Regions from separate parts of the Homo sapiens genome. Here region 1 is linked to region 2. Evidence: promoter capture Hi-C in human tissues and cell types (Jung and others, 2019). All regions are on one chromosome and are shown on one strand. The core of a region is centred on a gene start or on the middle of the fragment in contact, and the rest is flanking DNA. Distances in the headings are between cores, read along the strand shown. Region 1 has its middle 170 kb from the start of ECI2-DT. Region 2 holds the start of PPP1R3G (protein phosphatase 1 regulatory subunit 3G).

The links. Contacts are between HindIII fragments. The study calls those that stand out against the background at their distance.
Region 1: a contact is called between a fragment that was not itself captured here and the fragment with the promoter of PPP1R3G in region 2, in 1 of the 25 tissues and cell types used here (mesenchymal stem cells).

Annotation. Positions count from the first base shown.
Region 1 is chr6:4,304,322-4,307,959 of GRCh38, reverse strand. No RefSeq gene overlaps it. Among named protein-coding and RNA genes, the nearest start is that of ECI2-DT, 170 kb to the right of the region's middle. The HindIII fragment of the contact is 7,086 bases long and covers 1-3,638 here.
Region 2 is chr6:5,083,115-5,087,060 of GRCh38, reverse strand. PPP1R3G (protein phosphatase 1 regulatory subunit 3G) reads right to left here and starts at 1,720. Exons shown (of 1, transcript NM_001145115.3): 1 at 1-1,720. The coding sequence starts at 1,575. The coding sequence ends at 499. The region is part of intron 3 of LYRM4-AS1 (LYRM4 antisense RNA 1); the gene reads right to left. It also overlaps a transcript of LYRM4 not described here. RefSeq lists silencers at 969-1,198, 1,229-1,278, 1,419-1,518, 1,769-1,948, 2,359-2,638 and 1 more and an enhancer at 749-1,438. The HindIII fragment of the contact is 9,723 bases long and covers 1-3,946 here.

The DNA of each region.
Region 1 (3,638 bases), core at 1,024-3,523, 780 kb after region 2:
TGATTTTCAGATTGATTTGGGGCTATATGTGCACATCTGGCCCTGAGTGGTGAGCTTCCTCCACACTTTCCCTACTCACATCTCTACCAACGGTGGCCGGCTCATTTCATCTCCTCTCCACCAGGATGAATTCTCCTTTCTTTGCCCCTGCTGGGATGTGATATACACCTAAACCCATGGCTGCATCTGTCTATCTTGCCACCAGCACCAGACAAAGGTCCCTTTGCCTTCACAGCCCCATCATCCTACCTCTTACTTTTTTCAAGTCTACTCTTATCGACTGACAACTCATTGTAGATTGATTTGCATTTCTCTGATTAGTAACAGTTTTAAACATGTTTTACACTTGCTAGCCTCTTGGGATTCCTGTTGTGTAAATTGCCTGTTCATGTCCTTTGTCTGTTTTTCCTTTTTGCGATTGTCATTTTCTACTTGTTGACTCAAAGGCACTAGTGATTCCAGACACTGGTTCCTCATTTTAGAAATTGCAAATATCTTCTCTCCTGCTGTCATCTTCTTTGATCATGATGTCCTTCTTTAAACAGAAATTCTGTCCGCACACTTAGTCACCAATGAAGCAATGTCTTTAGGCCCTGTCCTTGCTACTGAGACTGGACAGATTGAGTTATTTGACCCAGGCATACCTCTTCCTATACAGTATATTACAGTTACTTCTAGCGCTCATTCATTTGATCTCTTTTCTGTATTTTTTACTTTCCTTCCTCAATTCTTTATTCAATAAAATATTTTTGAGCACATATTATGTACAATCAGTATACTAGTCATTGGGATATAAGAGTATACAAATAGGCATAGTCACTATGTTGGAGGGATGGAAAAAGAGAGATCAAATAATAAATAAAGAGAAAAATACCTTTATGCTCCAAAACTTGTGAAGCAACCAAGATGTCCTTCAGTAGGTGAATGGACAAATAAACTCTGGTACATCGAGACAATGGAATATTATTCAGCACTACAAAGTAATGGCTCATCAAGCTGTGAAGACATTGAGGAAACTTAAATGTATACTGCTAAGTGAATGAAGCCAATCTGAAAAGGCTGCATAACTGATGAATTCAACTTCATGACACTCAAAAAGGCAAAACTATAGAGACAGTAAAAAGATAAGTGGTTGCCAAGGGTTGGAGGAAGAAGGGATGCACAGGTAGAGCACAGAGGGCTTTTAGGGCAGTGAAAACACTCTGTATGATACTAAAATGGTGGATACTTGTCATCATATATTTATCCAAACCCACAGAATGAACACCAAGAATGAACCCTAAGATAAGCTATAAACTTTGTGTGATGAGGGTATGCCAATGTAGGGTCATCAATGGTAACAAATGTGCCACTCTGGTGGAGGATGTTGATATGGAGGAGGCTGTGCATGTGTCAGGGAAGGGGCATATGGGAAATCTCTGTGTCTTCCTCTTAATTTTGCTGTGAACCCAAAACTGATCTAAAACATACAGTAAATTATATGTAACATATATATAATTGTATATGTATACAATTCATCAGTTGATGATAAGTGTTATGAAAACAAATGATACATGGAAGGCAATAACGAGTGATGGGAATGCTTTTTGAGCTGGTCCAGAAGGTCTCTCTAAAGAAGTGCATTTGAGCAGAGCTAAAGGAAGCCAGTGAGTGAGCTATGATGAGAATATCAAGGGAAGAGCCTTCAGGCAGAAGGAACAGCACGTGCAAAGACACAGAGGCAAGAGCAAGCCTTGTGCGTGTTGCAGGAACAGCAAGTAGGTCTGTGCAGCTGGGGGCAAGCACATGAGAAAAAGAGTAGCAGAAAATAAACTGGAGGAGTAGGTGGGAGCCAGGTCACGCAGGAGTGAAAATGCAGGCATTAGTGAGGACTCTAGATTTCATTCTTCTCCTGATTGGCACAGACATTCTTTCTTAAGTTAACACCTTAAGCTCAATCTTTACTTTCTTTTTTAAAAAACTTTTATTTTAGGTTTAGGGCTACATGTGCAGGTTTGCTGCATAGGAAACTTGTGTCATGGGGGTTTGTTGTACAGATTATTTTATCACCCAGGTATTAAGCCTAGTACCCAATAGTTATCGTTTCTGTTCCTCTCCCTCCTCCTAAAATAGACCCCATGTCTACTGTTCCCTTCTTTGTGTTCATGAGTTCTCATCATTTAGCTCCCATTTATAAGTGAGAACATGTGGTATTTGATTTTCTGCTCCTGAATTAGTTTGCTAAGGATGATGGCCTCCAGATCCATCCATGTTCCTGAAAAATACATGATCTTGTTCTTTTTATGGCTGCATAGTTGTCCATGGTTTATATTACCACATTTTCTTTATCCATTCCATCACTGATAGGCATTTAGGTTGATACCCTGTCTTTGTTATTGTAAATGGTGTTGCAATGAACATTCATGTGCATGTATCTTATAGTAGAGTGATTTATATTCCTCTGGAAAAAAAAGCTCAATATCGCTGATCATTAGAGAAATGCAAATCAAAACTACAGTGAGATACCATCTTACACCAGTCAGAATGGCTACTATTAAAAAGTGGAAAACAAACAAACAACAGACACTGGCAAGGTTGCAGAGAAAAGGGAACACTTACACACTGTTGGCAGAAGTGTAAATTAGTGCAACCATTATGGAAAGCAGTGTTACAATTCCTCAAAGAGCTAAAAGCAGAACTAACATTCAACCCAGCAATCTTTTCTTTCAGGATGATTGTGTTTCAGCTCTGATTCATTACATACCTATTTTATGGTTTAAAATGAGAGACAGTCTTAATTTATCATCCTTCCAGATCATCCCCTCCCCATCAACCATCAGTTAAGTGATGCTGGGAAGCTTAAAAAGATAAAAATATGTGCAAGTGATATATTAGCCCCTGTATAAATATAGAGCATGATCATCATTGGAATTGCACACATTGACACCAAGAAGTCAGGAAGATTTTTATTTTTAATTAGCAGAGATAAATCACTTGTAGTCAACTGAGAGTTCAATAGCTCTTTTCAGTAAGAGTGGAGAAATTAATCCTTTGAAATCTGTGATCATTTTTTTATAAAAATAAAAAAATAAAGATTTTCTTAGCCCTAGCACTGCCATTTCCTGAGTAATTTAGTGCAATATGCTATTGGTTCAAAAGCGTTTTCAATTAAGAAAGACAAAACTTCCTATCACAAATTAATCAAAATTCACCTTAAGTGACTTGAATTAGCAACAGGAAAAGAATCTTCATCAACTTGAAAATTAAACTAAGCAACATTTGATTTATTATTTGGAAGTGCAAGTCAAAGGAAAATTTAATCGAAATTTTTAAATAAACAGCATGTGGTTTAAATTTCCTATTGCAAAATTCAATAACAAGTATGGAATTAGAGTATATATCGGGGATCAGTGTTCAGAAAACATTTCCAAAAACATCCTGCAGTCCCCCCACCTCATGTGAGGCAGACAGGCAGACAAGTCATGACTTGGGCCAAAGGGAGACATGATTTGCTATTTCCCCCATGAAGGCTATCTTTCAGTAGCTGGCACCCAACTCTGTAGGTGGAGCATCTTTTCATTTAGTTCATCTAGTTCTCTCCTACTGGTCTTCCAATCTCAGCTCACTGTCATCTCCTCAGAAAGACTCCTTCTGACCTC
Region 2 (3,946 bases), core at 471-2,970:
AAAGGTCCCACGCGTGCACCCACAGTCCGTGGCACCTTCCTCTGGTGCACCGTGGCAGGACGCTTTGTTCTTTCCCTAGGGGTCTCCAGCAAACTGCAAGGGCTACAATATGATATTTAGAGTTAAAAACCAATCCCAAGGCCTTAGAACCATGCCCGGGAGTTGGGAGCCTTTTTCTTGGAGGCAGCTGCTCCGGGCCTTGGAAGTTTCTTCCTATTCTGACGCAGGCTGGGAATTCTAGAGGCCTTGTAGGAAGGTCAAACGGACGAGAAGACTGAGGTCAGAGGCTTTCGGAGCATTGCCCGGGCTCTCTAAGCTCGCTCACTTGTCTGCGGGGGTGCGAGTCGACGGTTCAAAGTCTCCCTCCTTTCCCTCCACGCGCCCCTCACGCCAGACTCGCCACGCTCAGCAAAGCGTCCCAGCAAGTTCCTTGAGGCGGCAGCCCGAGCTCCACGTGCTAATCAACCCCGCCCCACGGCTCTTCGAAACTCTCCAGGCTCAGAGCGCGTCCGCAGGGCGCGCGTAGCGCAGCGTGTAGTTGGCGCCCGCGTTGTTGTCCCAGTACTCGCCCTGCGCGCAGCGGTAGCAGACAGCGAAGTGGACCGCGACGCCGCGCTCGTCGGCGTCCTCTTCGTCCTCAGGCTGCAGGCCCGGGGGCAGGCACAGCGAGAAGTGGAAGCACTCGGCGCCTGGCTCTTTCTTGGCATCCCCGGACCCTGGCTCGGAGGCCCCAGACGGTGCCTCTGGCTGCTGTGGCTCCAGCGGCTCGGGCTGCAGCTCAGCCGGCACGTCCAGGAAGGAGCGCCACTCGGTAAAGGTGTAGCGCACGGTCACGGCCCTGGGCCCAGGGCAGCTGAGCACCCGGCCGGAGCCCTTCACCTCAGCGCCCGAGGCCGTCGAGCACTGCACGCGCTCCAGGCACACGCGCTGCCGCTGCAGACGCTCGGCCGCGGCGCTCGGCCCCGGGAGCTGGAAGAGCGGCCGGAGCCGGGAAGGCGGCGCTGAAAGGGGCGCGGCCACTGCCGCCGCGGCCAGCAGCCCCCCGAGCTGCTCCAGGTCCTCGGCACGCATAGGGAAGCTTCGGAGGCGCGAGAGCACGGCGGGCGGCACCTGCGGCTCCTCCGCCTCGCTGAAGTGCTTCACGCTGGCCAGGCTTAGCCCCAGCGTGTCCGCGAACTGCACCCGCTTCTTGCACTTGGCGCAGCAGCCGCCCGGGCCGAGCTGTGCGTCCTCCGCCCCCTCGCCGCCCAGTGCCACCGCCTGTTGCTGCTGCTGCTGCAGGAACTTGGCCGCCTGCAAGATGGGGTCGGCGGGCAAGGAAAAGGAGCGCGCGCGGCAGCGGCGGCGGCATTCCAGCAGCTCCTCCTGCTCCTGGGGGGCGGCCTCTTCCTTCGGGGACAGGGGCCTATCCCCTAGCTGAGCGTCAGGACTCGGGGTCTCCGAAGCGCCACCGCCGTCGCCGCCACCCTGCACACAGGGGACCACCGGGGCGGGCAGCTCCTCGGCCGGCGGGGCCTCTCGGAAGGGCGCTGGTCCCGGCGCCTCCAAACTTAGCCGCGCCCCTATGGGCTCCATGACGCCGTTCGCCCCTGGACTTGCTCGGGCCGAACCGGGCCCCTCTGGAGACTTAACTAACTCCTCGGGCCGTGGAAGGAGCGCAGGGCTGCAGTTCAGGCTCGCCCTCCCCGAGGCGAGTCGCCCCAGGCTCGACAAGACAACGTAGTTCCACTTTGGAGCCTCCGGCTTTTAGCTGCGGCTGCCCAGGGCGAAGTGGGAGGAGGATGCGGGCCTGGGGCCGGCTCCGGGGCCACGCCGCCTCCCGGTTGAACCTGCCCGCGACGGGGGAGGGCCGGGGGCGGGGAGGCGCGGCCGCTGGGACACCTGGAAGCCGTGTTCCCGAGTGCTCCGGTGGAATGCGGGGGGCGACTTTCTGTCGTTCGCGGGCTCCCTGCAGCCCTCACCCGCACCCCCGGCGGGGCTCGCGTCTGTTCCGCTTCTTGAGTGCCTCGAAGTGGGGGTGCAGAGCTCGCGCTCAACCTTCAGAGACCCCCACGTGCACAAAGTCTTCCTGCCCATGAACTTGGCCTGACGGCTCTGCCCCCAGAGGGTCACTGAGCGCTCTCCTCTTGGCTGCCTCACGGGCTGGGGAGTCCCCGGTGCAGCGCGCAACTGGGGAAATCTTGCCTACGCAGAGGCTGGAAGGAGGCCCATTCCGCGCCGCCGGAGAGCGGGGAGCGCATCCCTTCCCTTCTGCTCCTGCTTTCCCCAAACTTCAGGGCGCCCCGGGTTCCAATCCCACTCGGAAGCCTGACTCGGTCAGGCGCGCTCCGCTCTGCTCTTCCGAAAGCCGGGAGGCAGGAGCCGCCGCCCCCATCTGCCCAGTGGCGGCGCGGGGTGGGCTGCGGCCAGACTGGGGCGGGGACCGTGTGGGGACGCGCCGGGGAGCGGCCATGGCCCGCAGCCGAGAGCGGCCGGAGGCCATTCGCGCCAGGCCCGGGAGCACGTCCCGCCCCTCCCCCTGTCCCGCCCGACGCGCCCGCGAGTCCGCGCCCCGGGATCCCGCAGGGAGGGCGGAGAGGGGGCCCCGTGGGGCCGGCGCCCACGCGGCACGCACCACCTCCCACCGCAACCGGACGCCAGCGCCCCAAGCACCCTCCCCGCCCACCGGGAGTGGGGGCGTGGCCCGCGCCGGACTGCGCTGTCACCGCCCTGCTGCTCCGGCCTTGCCAGGGGCCAAGGCCCGAACCTGAGGCCGGGGAGGGGTGGGGAAGCGCGTCGTGGTACCTAGGGATTGGGGGAACGTCTAAAAGTGGTGTTTTTCTTGTTTTGGTTTTAAGGCCACCCTGAGGGCCATCTAAGTCAGTGATTCTACTTCAGCATGCACGGACATCACTCGGGGGCCCGTTGTCACATCACAGGGCCCCACTCCCAGAGTTTCCTTCTTTCTAACTTTTTCGAGATAGGGGTCTTGCTATGCTGCCCAGGTTGGTCTCAAATTCCCGGCCTCAAGCAGTCCTCCCGCCTCAGCCTCTAAGGTAGCTGGGATTACAGGCGCCCCCCACTGCTCCCAGCTCCCTAGCGTTTGTGACTCAGTGGGCTTGGGCTGGGGCCTGGAAGTATTTCTAACAAGGGGATGCTGATGCTGGGCTCTGGGGACCGTATTTAAACCTATGTGGATGTGTATTCAGTTACTTATATAGAAAGTTGGGGATTCTAGAAACAGAACCACTAATTAAGAAACGTAATTAATTGGGGCTTCATAACTAAAACATGTCATGGTTTGGCAGAACTGAAAGGGGCCAGGGTTTTAGCCATGTTGGCAGAGGGCAGGCAAAAGAGATGGTGGGTGAGGAGCGTGTTAAGAGCTTACATTGATTGACTGAGCACCTACAGGATGTCCTGTCCATGAAATAGGAATCACATCATTCCTGCCTACATATAGGACACAACACTGCAGAAAGATTTCTCATCGCCAAGGCCCCACAGGGTGGCTTTCATGGGATTTGAAGCCAGGCAGCTTAGAGGAAACATTTCCCCCATCACTACTAAGCCTGGGCTGGGAGTGATGTCCTGTAAAGGGGGCCCTGCCGGTCCCCTTGCTGGACTCTTGCTGGTCATTTTATGCCCAGTGTGGAATTCCATGACTGTGTCTTGACTTGGGCATGGCATCTCCAAGAGGCCCCAGGCGCACACGGCCTGTCTTCCTGCAGCAACTCTGATTTCGGGAAGGACATTGCTTTTACATTTAAATACACATTGCTACATTATGGAGTTAAATACAAAATTCACAAGCTATTTTAAAGATAAAATAAGACTTCAAAGAGATTTTGAGGTGGTGGCGACCCTTTGGGCTACAACCCTCACGGGGGCACATGCTCACTCCAGGACAGAGAAGGAGGTGAGGGAGGTGCTGGGGCATAGAATTTAAGGAGGCATCACTCTCAGG